Linked DNA regions of Homo sapiens: all the other regions are linked to region 3. Evidence: promoter capture Hi-C in 16 types of primary human blood cells and fetal thymus (Javierre and others, 2016). All regions are on one chromosome and are shown on one strand. Each heading gives the region's core, a stretch centred on a gene start or on the middle of the fragment in contact. The rest is flanking DNA. Distances are from core to core; before and after follow the strand shown.

The links. Contacts are between HindIII fragments. The CHiCAGO score rates a contact against its expected background, and 5 or more counts as called.
Region 1: a fragment that was not itself captured here is called in contact with the fragment with the promoter of BATF in region 3 in 1 of 17 cell types (activated CD4 T cells); the score reaches 5.2 in activated CD4 T cells.
Region 2: a fragment that was not itself captured here is called in contact with the fragment with the promoter of BATF in region 3 in 1 of 17 cell types (neutrophils); the score reaches 5.6 in neutrophils.

The regions. Positions count from the first base shown.
Region 1 is chr14:75,226,924-75,231,558 of GRCh38, forward strand. No RefSeq gene overlaps it. Among named protein-coding and RNA genes, the nearest start is that of FOS, 50 kb to the right of the region's middle. RefSeq lists a cis regulatory region at 2,820-3,375. The HindIII fragment of the contact is 732 bases long and covers 2,528-3,259 here.
Region 2 is chr14:75,095,598-75,100,025 of GRCh38, forward strand. NEK9 (NIMA related kinase 9) reads right to left here. Exons shown (of 22, transcript NM_033116.6): 17 at 1,503-1,673. Among named protein-coding and RNA genes, the nearest start is that of ZC2HC1C, 28 kb to the left of the region's middle. RefSeq lists a silencer at 3,467-3,664. The HindIII fragment of the contact is 1,111 bases long and covers 704-1,814 here.
Region 3 is chr14:75,520,542-75,525,029 of GRCh38, forward strand. BATF (basic leucine zipper ATF-like transcription factor) reads left to right here and starts at 1,928. Exons shown (of 3, transcript NM_006399.5): 1 at 1,928-2,204. The coding sequence starts at 2,142. RefSeq lists an enhancer at 1,896-2,225. The HindIII fragment of the contact is 2,331 bases long and covers 145-2,475 here.

The DNA.
Region 1 (4,635 bases), core at 1,644-4,143, 290 kb before region 3:
ATCCAGAGGGACAGAGTCCAAGGTGCTGAGGAAATAGAGTGGCCTGGCATGGGAGGAGCCTGGCAGGGGTGGTGCATGCAGGGGTGTAGGGGGCAATAAGCCTAGATAGCAAGGTCAGAGACAACACCAGACATGGCATGCTAAGGAGTTTGGACTTTATGCCACAGACAATGGGGAGCCACTGAAGATTTTTTGATTATTAGAGAGATAGGACCAGAGCTGGCCCTTAGGAAGGTTGGATTTGGTGGGGAAATCAGGCAGGAGAATACTATTTATTTATATGAGAGGCAACATGGGTTTGATTTTAATACTCAACAATGTAATGAGTGCATGGTACCTGCCAATACTGAAAACTGGAGGGGCAAAGAGAAAAAAGGGACTGCCCCTGTCCTGTCCCATGGAGCTCGTAGATGACTAAACTGACAATGATGATACAGTGTGATGTGGTAGTGATATGACCAGCATGTTATGGGTGCCCTTAAGAAAGGGGGCCACTGAGGCTGGGCACGGTGGCTCACACTTGTAATCCCAGCACTTTCGGAGGCCGAGGCAGGTGGATGGCTTAAGTCTAGGAGTTCAAGACCACCCTGGGCAACATGGTGAAACCCCGTCTCTACAAAACATTTACATATTTGCTGGGCATGGTGACACGTGCCTGTAGTCCTGGCTACTTGGGAGGCTGTCATGGGAGCATTGCTTGAGCCCGGGAGGTTGAGGCTGCAGTGAGTTGAGATCGTGCCACTGCACCTAGCCTGGGTGACAGAGCAAGACCTTGTCTCAAAAAAATAAAAGAAAGGGGGCCACTGAGGCTGGGCACGGTGGCTCATGCCTGTAATCCTAGCACTTGGGGAGGCTGAGGTGAGCAGATCACCTGAGGTCGGGAGTTCGAGACCAGCCTGACCAACATGGTGAAACCCTGTCTCTACTAAAATATACAAAAAATTAGCCAGGTGTGGTGGCATTTGCCTGTAATCCCAGCTACTCAGGAGGCTGAGGCAGGAGAATCGCTTGAACCCAGGAGGTGGAGGTTGCAGTGAGCTGAGATTGTGCCATTGCACTCCAGCCTGGGCAACAAGAGTGAAACTCCGTCTCAAAAAAATAAAAAAAGAAAAGAAAAGAAAAGAAAGGGGGCTACTGAACTCAGCCTGAAGTGGGGCAGCGGTCAGCAAAGTCTTGTGAATGAATGGTGAGTTACCAGGAAAAAGGGTGAAGAACAGTATTCCAGGCAGCAGCTGCACGTGTAAAAAGCATGGAGTGGTGAGAGCAGAGTGGCTCAGCCTGGGCTGAGGATGAGGAAGCCGGTGCTGTGACTACAGAGGAAGCCAGAAAGAAAGCAGGGGACAGACCACGAGGACTTTGCATGTCATACTAGTTTGTTTCTTATCATTAAAGCCATGGATCCCTCCTCCCTAAATGAATAATCCCACCTTTTTCCCTTTGTTCCCACAGTCCTGGGAGGAGGAGTAGCTGTTTCCTGCAGTTGCTGCCTCAGTGATACCTCAGTGTTCTCTTTGTCATTTCACTTTCCAAGTTGAAGTTAACAATTCTTTTTTGTTTTGGACCTAGTAAACAATTCTTTATCTTAAATTGACCCTGTTACAATGTGTTACAATAGCTGGTGTGATTTCAGTTCCCCGTCTGGACCTTGACTGAGAAAGGGCCCTTGAGAGGTTTTTGTTTTTGTTTTTGAGACAGTTTCACTCTTGTTGCCAGGCTGGAGTGCAATGGCACAATCTTGGCTCACTGCAACCTCCGCCTCCCGGATTCAAGCGATTCTCCTGCCTCAGCCTCCCGAGTAGCTGGGATTACAGGCATGCACCACCACGCTCGGATAATTTTTGTATTTTTAGTAGAGACGGAATTTCTCCATGTTGGTCAGGCTGGTCTCAATCTCCTGACCTCATGATCTGCCCGCCTCAGCCTCCCAAAGTGCTGGGATTACAGGCGTGAGCTATCGCTCCTGGCTGAGAGATTTTTAAGTAAGAGGAGGCGTGCCGTCAGATTTACATTTTAGAAAGTTGTCTCTAGGGGCAATGGTGGAGAACAACGACTAGAAGCAAGGAGCCCACTGAGGCCGTGGTTCCCGTGTTACAGGGGAGATACAGCGGCAGCCAGAATGCAGAGGTGGAAGGTAGATGGGAAGGAGGGGATACAGTCAAGAGATACTAAGGAAATAGAATTAACAGAAGAGGGAGATCAAGAGATTTGCTTATGCTTCTGGGTTTGCAGGACATGCCATTTACTGGGGCACAGAATATAGAAGAATTAGGTGTGTGTCAAGAAGATCCATCATTCTGTTTTGTACACGTTAAGTCTAAGAACCACCAGGTGGAAATGGAGGCAGCTGTGTATGCAGATGTGTGGGCAGAAGAGCCAGGCAGATGGATTCGGAACTCAGCAGGGTATGGCTGTGGTTGAGGTCATGCAGAGAGCATGGTGGGTGGGGGCACTGACGGCAGAATCTCCTAGAACCCCAACATTTAGGAGATGAGCTGAGAAACAGGAACCCTAGATTATCTGGAAGAGAAGCTTGGGAACTACGAAAGTGTTCAGAGGGAGGATCAGGCAGGGCACTTGTCAGAACAACTGCAGTCTGGGTACTCAAAGGAAGGAAACTTCTCAAAGGTGTGTGTTTCAGGCATGCAGATACATATGCATTTTTAAAGTCATTCCTTCTCTTAAGTTTGGAATATTGAGGAAAAACTCTTTCACATCAACCCTGGTGCCACCAGGCGACCTGGCCCAACCCTTCACTGTTGTCCAAGTGCGTCAGGAGAAGCCACCTGGCCGGAAGGAGCCAGGTGGAGCAGAGGGCAGCCAGTCTTATAGTCAATAGTCAGTGATAAGGCCAGATGTGTGGCAATATCAAATAATCAAGAACTGGCGTCATCCCCAGACAGCATGCTTAACTGTCTTCAGTGAGGAGACAAGGAAGGGGTGGAGGGGTGTCTCAGATGCCTGGGAGGGGAAATGGGAGGGAGCTCGCATTTGTGGAGTGGGCCAGGCCCTGTGCTAGGCTCTTTCCATGTTATCTCCACTAACCCTCCCAACAGCCATGCCTGTTTCAAAGATAAGACAGATGGGGCTCCAAGAGGTTAAATAATGTGCCTCAGGTAGTAACTGAGTGACCTAGGATTTGAACCTGGAAGGCCAAAGGCCATGCTGTCTCAAGGGAGCCCTTGGTCACCAGTTCAGTCAATCTCCCTGGTGAAGGTCCGTGTGCTGTAAGTTTGGGCATGGATACAAACCTTCCCATTGAAGCTTGATATGAGTGATGGCTCAGCGCCCAATCAGCAGCCAGATTAGGTGTTCTCCATGAGTGGTTTGGTGCTAGCACTTGCTTCCAAACCACACTTCCTGTTCATCTTTCACACCTATTGTCTCACTGCTGGGTTTCTTGCCAAATGCCTCCCTTGCCACTCCCAGTATGGGGGCAGAGTGACTAGGGAACAGCTTACAATGAGGAGTCTGTCAGACCTCCTTACTTTGCAGACGTCCTAAACACCTGATGAGCAACCACCAACTACTGAGGAGAGCCAATTTGCACCCAATTTTTGAGACCCTAAAAGACACTCTTTGAGCCTGATTACAGGTCAAATACTGGTAATAGCTAAAGGGTGGCTTTCTGTGTGCTGAGCCTTGAATTGTCTGCCTAACATGCATTGTTTCATATAATTCTTAAAATAACCCCATGAGGTGAGTGCGATTATTACACCCATTTTGCCTACAAGGAAGCAGGCTGAGAGAAAAGTGTCTACACCCAGTAAGCACCAGGAATGTCTGAATCAAAGGCAGGGAGAGGTGCCTGCCAAGCCCCGCACTTCCTTTCTCTCCCTTCCCCTAAGGCCTTTGGCTTAGATACGCTGATCCTTGAGAAATCCCTCCTCTCTCTTCCTTCCTTCCTTCCTTCCTTCCTTCCTTCCTTCCTTCCTTTCTTTTTTCTTCCTTTCTCTCGCTCTCTCTCTTCTTCTTTCTTTTTTTTTCTGGAGTCTCGCTCTGTTTCCCAGGCGTGATCTTGGCTCACTGCAACCTCCACCTCCAGGGTTCCAGCAATTCTCTTGCCTCAGCCTCCTTAGTGGCTGAGACTATAGGAGTGCGCCACCACGCCCAGCGAAGTTTTGTATTTTTAGTAGACATGGGGTTTCACCATGTTGGCTAGTATGGTCTTGATCTCTTGAGCTTGTGATCCACCTGCCTCAGACTCCCAAAGTGCTGGAATTACAGACACGAGCCACCGCGCCCGGCCTATTCAGGAGCTTTTACCCCATAAATCTTCTTACACATAGAAAAATAAAAAGTTCTGTCCCTTGTTACAGGTATTTTATATTATCAGTGGCGCCAATAAGGTGGGTGCATGTGTGTGCACACATGCGTGTATATGGGTGTGTGTGCACACCTGCATGTATATGGGTGTGTGTGCACACATGCATGTATGTGTCTGTGTGTGTGCATACACATATGTGGGGGTGGAGTAGGAATCAGGCAAATCAACCTCATAGACCTGTTCCCTGTTTCTGGGGTCATATATGGCTACAGTGACTATGTTTCTGAACCACAGGCCAGGCCACATGTCCTGGCCATTGCAATGGTTGTTGAGGGGATATTACAACAGTGAAACTGATACCTGCCCATGAG
Region 2 (4,428 bases), core at 9-2,508, 430 kb before region 3:
CTAAGTATATTCACTATCTACATTAGCAACTGTCTGCCTTGGCTGGTCACTGGAATCACCTGGGAAGTTTTAAAAAGTAACCATGTGTTTGAGACCAGCCTAGGCAACATGGCAAAACCCAATCTCTAAAAAAAAATGCAAAGCTAGCCAGGTGTGGTGGCACTGGCCTGTAGTCCCAGCTACTTGGGAGGCTCAGGTGAGAGGATCAATTGAGCCTGGGAGAGCGAAACTACAGTGAGCTGTGTCTGTGCCACTGCACTCTACTCTGGGTAACAGAGTGAGACTCTGTCTCAAAATTTAAAAAAAGGAAGTAACATTGCATAGGTCTGTAGGTTCCACCCCAGAGATTCTGATTTAATTGGTCAGGGATAGGGTCTGGACCGTGGTATTCTTAAAAGCTTCTTGGCCGGGTTCAGTGGCTCATGTCTGTAATCTCAGCACTTTGGGAGGCCGAGGCAGGCAGATCATGAGGTCAGGAGTTCAAGACCAGCCTGGCTAATATGGTGAAACCCCATCTCTACTAAAAAATCCAAAAATTAGCCAGGTGTGATGGTACACTCCTGTAGTCCCAGCTACTCGAGAGACTGAGGCAGGAGAATCGCTTGAACCTGGGAGGATGCAGTGAGCTGAGATCGCACCACTGCGCTCCAGCCTGGGCGACAGAGCGAGACTTCGTCTCAAAAAAAAAAAAAAAAAAAAAAAAAGCTTCTCAAGGATTCTAATGTATGTGCTGCTAAGGTTGCAAACCACTGATCTAAAAGTAGACTTATAAACCCTTACACAGGCATTTATAAAGTAGTTCCTAACAAAGTAATCTTTATGCAGAAAGTGCTTATAATTTAAAGTTTCTTTTAAAGGATGTACTGAATGTTTCTCATGAAAGCATGAGCACAGACAACAAATTAATTGGTGGATGATTAGAAGTAACAAATTCTAGGGCCAGGCACGGTGGCTCATGCCTGTAATCCCAGCACTTTGGGAGGCTGAGGCAGGTGGATCACCTGAGGTCAGGAGTTCTAGACCAGCCTGGCCAACGTGGTGGAACCCCATCTCTACCAAAAATACAAAAATTAGTCAGGCGTGGTGGTAGGCACCTATAGTCCAAGCTACTTGGGAGGCTGAGGCAAGAGAATTTGCTTGAACCCAAGAGGCGGAGGTTGCAGTGAGCCGAGATCACACCATAGCACTCCAGCCTGGGCGAAAAGAGTGAAACTCCAACTCAAAAAAAAGACAAAAAAAAACAACCAAAAAAATCAATTCTAAGGGGGCAGGCAGAGCCCAAACTTATATTAAAAAATAATCAAGAGATGGCAGATAGCAAAGCTCCAGGAAATGACAATGTTCTGTTCCCACCACTAGGCATGGCATCCTTGACCATTACAAGACTTACAGAAATGGCTTCTTCAGGACATTTCTGTTTCCAACAATGTGACTAACAGTACTCAGATGTGGGTCCATCCTCTGTCAAAGCCATCCCAACCCCAGACATATGAAACTCTTACCAACGATGAGAATGGTATGCCATCCACGGCAAGACAGGTCCGGGACATGATGCAGAGATCCAAAAATAGGCCGAGGCCATGAGGTACAGATATCAGAGCCATGTGGTCTCTCTGTGGGGGTCATTGCCAGGCGGCCATTACCACCATTGCCCCAGGCAAAAATGTGATTATCTAGGAAAAAAGTTAAACAGTAGACCATTTAACAGAACACTGGCTTCCCAATTCTCCGGGTTCCCCATCTTTATATCCTAGAGCTAGAAAGACTTCCCACTATGTACTAAACAAGGGAAAGCTGTTTATTCTCCTATATAAAGCTTAAACTCTTCCTGATTCCACTTGGGTAAAAATGCCCACTCTTCCTATGTACTGCCATTCACTCATTCATTCATCCAATCATTCACCTTTTTCTTCAACAACTTTTTATTGGTCATTCATTCAAACAGTGACTGAACATCTATTTCATGACAGGTACTGCATGGGGTGATAGAGCAGTGAACAAAACCAAGTCCTTGCCCTGTGGAACTGACATTCTAGTAGGGGAGACTGATAATAATAAATATACACCTAATATTTAAGGTGGTGATAAATGCTATGAAGATAAATGGTGGAGAAAAATAAGTGGAAACAAAGAGTAACAGTGGGGTGGGATATCATTATTTTAGATAGGGTAGGTCAGAGGAGTTCTGACACTTGAACAGAGATCTACTGGAGTGACGAAGAGTTTCCAGGCAGAGAGAAGAGCAACAGCAAAAGTAATGTCAGCAGCACAAACAAGGAACAAGGAGACCCCTGCAGCTAGAACAAAGTAAAGGAAGGGACGGAATAACAGAAGGGGTCAGGAGGTGGCTGAGGTCCTGCTCACATAGGGCCAGTCGGGCCACTGTGATGACTCTGGCACTTACTGACTGATAGAGGAAACCACTGGAGGTTTTGAGCAGTAGTTATTTAAGAGAATCCCTCTGTCTACTGAGGAGAACTGATGGCAGGGGAGCAAGGATGGAAGCAGGGAGACCAGTTGTAGTGGAGATGGTGAGAAGTGGTTGGATTTATTCTGAAGATAACCAATATGGATGGGATGTGGAGTGTAGGAGGAAGTTGCCATTTACTGAGACAGGAAGGCTGCAGGAGGTACAGATCTGGGCAGAAAATCAGAAGTTTGATTTTGAGTATACTAAGTTTGTCTGAGATGCCTATAACTTCTTATCCAAATCAGGCTTTTAAAAAAAAATGAAACAGGGTGGCTATTAATCATTAAGCCAGGACAACAGGCATGAAGGCATGAATCAGGATTGGTCTAAGATAACTGGGTTATATGGCCCACCCTAAATTTAGACATCAAGTTGAGGAGCTGTTGAATAAATGAGTCTGAAGGTCAAGCCTGGTGATATAAAGCAGTCAATGTATAGGGGGAATTTAAGGGAACAAGCTCACTTTGGAGAGACAAGTGAGCCTTGGGGTACTCCAGGACTTAGAAGACTAGGCTGCTGCTATTATAGCACCTAACACCTGCCTGTGCTAGTCCCCTATTCTACTAGAGTGTGAGCTCCTTGAAAGCAGGAGTTTTCTGAGACTCATTTCTATATTCCTAGAGCCTAAAAGAGGACTTGGACATGAATGAGGCCATCAAGTACAGTTCAGAGGAGTATAGGAACATCAAGAGGTAATATGCCCAGCCACAGAATCCAAATTTACATTCCTCATTCTGAAGTTAAAGTCATGAACTACACAGATCTATTCAAGAAACATGAGCTCTCTGAAGCCCTGTCAGAAAGTGCTACTGCAGTTGCTGCACTAAATTTATCTTCAGTGACATCCTGACTGTCCTGTGTAACGTTTCCATTTATCCAAGTCTGACCTAAACAGTTTGCTCCTTAAAGTCCCTTATTTTGGGACAAGCAGAGAGAGTTAATGTGCTGTTCTGAATGCTGGTTTATTTAAATATGGTAACAGATCACAATATCCCTGAGACCCCTCATGAGTACAGAACAGGCATGGACCAAAAGAAAACAAGGATATCTCAGAGCACAAGCAACAACAAAAAAGTTGATGAGTCAAAAGATAAGAAGATTAAATGTATTGGCTGGGCATGGTGGCACACGCCTGTAATTCCAGCTACTTGGGAGGCTGAGGCAGGAGAAGCACTTGAACCCGGGAGGTGGAGGCTGCACTGAGCCGAGATCATACCACTGTACTCCAGCCTGGGTGACAGAGCGAGACTCTGTCTCAAAAAGAAAAAGAGAGAAAATGAAATGTGAGTTGTTACCAGTCAAGTGAAAAAAGTGGCTACAAAAATTTAGAAGTTCAGATGATGACACAGGAAAAAGAAAAAAGAGGAAAAAAGCAAGCAAAGAAGGAAGGGAATGTAGGATAGCAACAGCAGCAGTACAGAAGAGAAGGAGTGACCAGGAGTGGTGGCTCACGCCTATAATCCCAGCACTTTCGGAGGCCAAGGCGGGTGGATCATCTGAGGTCAGGAGTTCAAGACCAGTCTGGCTAACAGGGCAAAACCCCATCTCTACTAAAAATACAAAAATTAGCTGGGCATGGTGGCGAGTGCCTGTAATCCCAGCTACTCAGGAGGCTAAGGCAGGAGAATCGCTTGAACCTGGGAGGCGGTAGTTGCAGTGAGCTGAGATCGCGCCACTGCACTCCAGCCTGGGCGACAACAGTGAGATTGTGTCTCAAAAAAAAAAAAAAAAGAAGAGGAGTGAGGAACCAGACAATACTGCGGAAAGAAATAGCCACAGAGGACCAGGTGCAGTGGCTCACACCTGTAATCCCAGCACTCTGGCAGGCCGAGGTGGGCAGATCACGAGGTCAGGAGTTCGAGACCAGCCTGGCTAACATGGTGAAACCCTGTCTGTACTAAAAATACAAAAATTAGCTGGACGTGGTGGTTTGTGCCTGTAGTTCCAGCTACTCAGGA
Region 3 (4,488 bases), core at 678-3,177:
TCAGCCTAGCCCAGCCTATCCCCAAAGAACCTTTCAGATGACCCACAGACTCATGAGCCAAATAAATGGCTTGAGTCATCGAAGTTTCTGGTAGTTTTTTGGGCAGCGAACACTGATAGACTATCTCATTTAGACAAAAAGTCAAGCTTCTTTTTACTAACTGTATCCTCAGTACTTAGTGCCTGGCACATGGTAGATGCACCATGAACGTTTGTTGAATATATTAATAAAGGTGTAAATGGTTTTAACATTCTATTGAGGGAAACAGGAAAAAGATAAATCAGTAAACGAATAAAATAAGTATAAAATTGGGTAACTGCTATGGGAGAAATGAATAGTAGCTGAGGTAGAGGATAAGAATGAAGGTGGAAGGGGAAACCCTCCATGGGCTCACTGTGTCTTTCAGAATGAAAGCTAAAATCCTGATGTTGGCCTCTAAGGCCCTCCCTGACCGGGCCATTACCTCACTGACCTCATCGCCTGCCACTTTTGCTGCCTCTGATATCCAACTACCTGGCCCCCCTGCTCTTTTTCCAATACTCAAGCACACTTCCACCTCAGGTCCTGGAATGTCCTTCCCTGAGACACTCACCATTCACTCCCTCTCTTTCTTCGAATCTCTGCTCAGGTATCCCCTCTTTGGGCAAGGCCCTTCTGACCACCCAGAATTCCCTAACCTCCAACCCTGCTTTATTTTCCTCCATAGGAAAGGAATTTTGTCTTACTTAATTTAACCTTAGGGCAATATTGTCTTAGTCTAGAAATTCAGCTCATGGATACAAAAATCCTCTAGGAGCCGTAACTTCCTGTCAATCCTAAAATTTAATAAGGCAAATGTTTGGCTTCGAGCCATACTGGGAATAAGGTAAGGCCTTTTGAAAAAGCCACGATGCCCAGGTGAGGGTTGAATTGATCACTGAGAACCCTACAAATGCGCTCATGGCAAGGCTGGGAATACCCTACACTTACCCTCTCGGTCATTTACTTCAGAGTCTGCGGGGCATTCTAATCCGCGTTGTCATTTGCTTTGTGCCACATTCCTAAGAGGTAGGCAGGGCAGGTTTTATCATCCTCTGTTTACAGATGAAGATAATGAAGGTCACATAGCTCAAGTGAGCTACCCAGGGCCACAGACATACAAAGTGGTAGAACCAGAATTTAAATCTTGGTTGGTCTGACTCCAAGTGTAGTATTTGTTTCACTTTTTCTTTCTTTCTTTCTTTCTTTTTTTTTTTTAACTGTTTCTGCATTCTGGGTTCTGACCAGGTGACCTTGAATCATAAAGATTCAGGGCCTGTCTTGAGCTGCTCAATATGGAAGGCATCTTTTCTCTAAAGAGTGTGAGCTCCCTGCCAAGCAGCACAGGCGCTTAATAGGCTTTCAGAGCAGCAATTCTAGAACCTCCCTTGTGGCTTTCTGATCTCCCACAGCCCTTGTGTTTGATGGTCAGGAAAGGAGAATACCCTTGGATCGTCTTATCTCCAGACCACCCCGAGGCTGGCTGGACTTAAGGGGTGAGGAAAGACAAGATGGGTGAGCAGCTGCTTTCGGCTGAAAACCAGAAAGAAATCCCAGTGTTTTTGCTTTATTTTGGTTTAAAAATCAAGTCGTATGACAATGGAAACATTTTCCTGGTTGTCCTCTCCTCTCTGCCCATGTTGACAGAAGACGGACTTGCTAATTCTGGCTGGGGTTTTTCCCTGCCTGGGCTGTTTTTCTCTTTTATCTTCATCAATTGAAGAGGGCTGCTGTGTCTTTCAAACTGTCGGAAGGTATCTGTATTTTTTTTTCTTTCACATAATTCTGTAGGTCTTTTCCCAGATATGTATTTTTCTCTCTAACTTCTAACTCGCTGAAGTTTCCGCCCATGTGACTTCCAGCGTGAGTTACCAGAAACCACAAGAGAGAGAGAGAGCGTGCAAGCCCCAAAGCGAGCGACATGTCCCTTTGGGGAGCAGTCCCTCTGCACCCCAGAGTGAGGAGGACGCAGGGGTCAGAGGTGGCTACAGGGCAGGCAGAGGAGGCACCTGTAGGGGGTGGTGGGCTGGTGGCCCAGGAGAAGTCAGGAAGGGAGCCCAGCTGGTGACAAGAGAGCCCAGAGGTGCCTGGGGCTGAGTGTGAGAGCCCGGAAGATTTCAGCCATGCCTCACAGCTCCGACAGCAGTGACTCCAGCTTCAGCCGCTCTCCTCCCCCTGGCAAACAGGTAGAGTCCTCCTTTTTCTCTCTCCTACCTTCTGATTCTCCTGGGGGATGGAAAGAGAGCCAGGCTTCCTTGTCCTGCCCAGGGAGCTGAGGATGGAGGAAGTGGCTCGTTGCACGGGCACTCTGTTAGACTTAGGACATGGAATTTGCTACTAAGCTGTGCATATTGGCAGAGATCCTCATCCTTCCACCCATTCTGCCAAAGCCCCTTTTTCTCTCCATTTTCCAAGGCTGCCTATCACCTCTGCCTCACTGGGGTTGCCACCCTAAAAAGCTTTCTAGGAAGCAAAGAGGAGGATGAACATCAAAGAATGCAGAGAAAAGAGTCTACTGTTCTCCAAGGCTGTAGAAAAGTGAGAGGAGTTTTCAAGTGGGCCGCTGGCATGCACAGCTCAAATCCTAGATATGCAGTTTCCCAGGAGACAGCCAATAGGGAAGGGGAGAAAAGGGGTTAGGGAAAAGTTAAAAAAAAAAAAAAAGAAGAAGAAGAAGAGGAAGAAGGAGGAGGAGGAGGAGAAACCCAGGCTAGCATAGAAGGATCTCTCTACTGGGGCACTGCCTCTGTTGCTAGCACAGCCAGCAAGGGGAGATGCTAGAGGTCCAGCCAATATCTCTTTGCTTGTGGCTTCTGGATAGGAGCAAGGAAATGAATGAGGAGGTGGCTCTGGAAATTTGTTGGAAGACATTTGCTGGTAGTTCATCTTAGCTCTGGGGAAACCAGAGAGACTGAGATAGGGATTGTGGGAGCATTTGGAGTCTAGATTGTGACTTCCAAGTCCAAAGGTTTTAGCTTGAGGATTACCAAAAAAGGAGTGCCCTGCCCATCTCACAGCTTCTAGGGTTTTGTTCTGCACCACACTCTTGACATCCCTTGCTGTAGGAAGCCCTCCTCTTTCTCATCCGACATGTATCCGTGGGTTAAAATTTTCTCAACCTTCATAGTTTAAAAACTTCATTCTTTCCTTAGCACAGATATCCACAAGGGTTTTCAAAATGCTGCAGCCAAAATAAAAGTATATAAATATTGAACAGGGCGTATATCCTAAGCCTCTAATAACGGAGCAGCAGGCTGGGATGAGTCTGGGTGGAGACCTCTAGAAGGCACAGAATCCAGTCTGCTGCTCAAGATGGTGTCAGAGTGGCTCTGACTGCCTGGAAGTTTGTACTTTTCTTAGGAAGGAAATTACTCATGGCTTCCATGGTAACCTGGTGCCCCATCCCCCTTAGAGGAAGAGCACTTCCTTCCTATCTATGCCAATGACCTCCTACCACAAAGGCCTGAAAGTATTGGACATGTTGGTGAGCCCAGTACTTAGTGATCCCAGAGCTTTGCCCTTGGATCTGTGCCCCTCTAGCCTGTGGGAGACGTGGAAGGGAACAGGGCATGAGTTGCCAGGACTCCTACACCTACACTGCAGCATCTGGGAGAGAACTGGAGCTAACCTCTCTGCCCAGGCACAGGACATGCCTCTCTCTGGGTGTAATTAGAGAACACCCAAAGATCCCCTTATCCTACCAAGCACCCATCTACTGCCCACCACAGCCAGGTCACCTCCACCATTAACGTTCTTTTTGGCATTGATGTGCCAGGCATTGTGCTGGGGCCATGGGGAATGTCACAGTGGCTGAGCACAACGGAAGGAAAGAGGAGGCAGATCTGGGATGCACCCTCAGCTCAGGAATGCAGCAGAAGACCACATGGGGTGCAGAGTAGCTAGCGGGGAAGGGTCTTGGAAAGCCATTGGGCTCAGCACCAGAAGATGTAGCACTCTCAGATGACCAGGAGTCCTTGGGCACACTCTTAGAGCCTCAGTTTCCTCACATATAAAATGGAAATGATGATATCAACTTCACAGCATTGGGGAATTAAACAAGAGCACTTCTGAAAGAACACTTGCCCAGAGGTTGGCATATAGTAGGCACTCAACAAAGTCTGAAAAAAAGAAAACAGCTAAAAGAACAGCAAGAAGAGCCTAAAGGCCAAAAAGTGAGAGGGCGAGGGTGGAGCAGCCCTACAGAGGAGAGGTGATAAAACACACTTCATCGCCTTAACCATTTTTTTTTTTTTTGGCCAAATACAGCTCTATTGAGTCCTCAAGTTCTCTTTTCTTTTTCCTGTAGCTATTGGTCAAAAAAGTCAGAGACCTGGGAATGTGTAAGCAGGCATGGAGAAGAGCTCTCCTTCGGGTGCAGGCTTTTGGTAAATAGAGGGATGGAGGGTTCATGCAGAGACGAAGGCATGGAAGGATGGCTGGACGGATACCACACACCACCAGAGCCTGCTT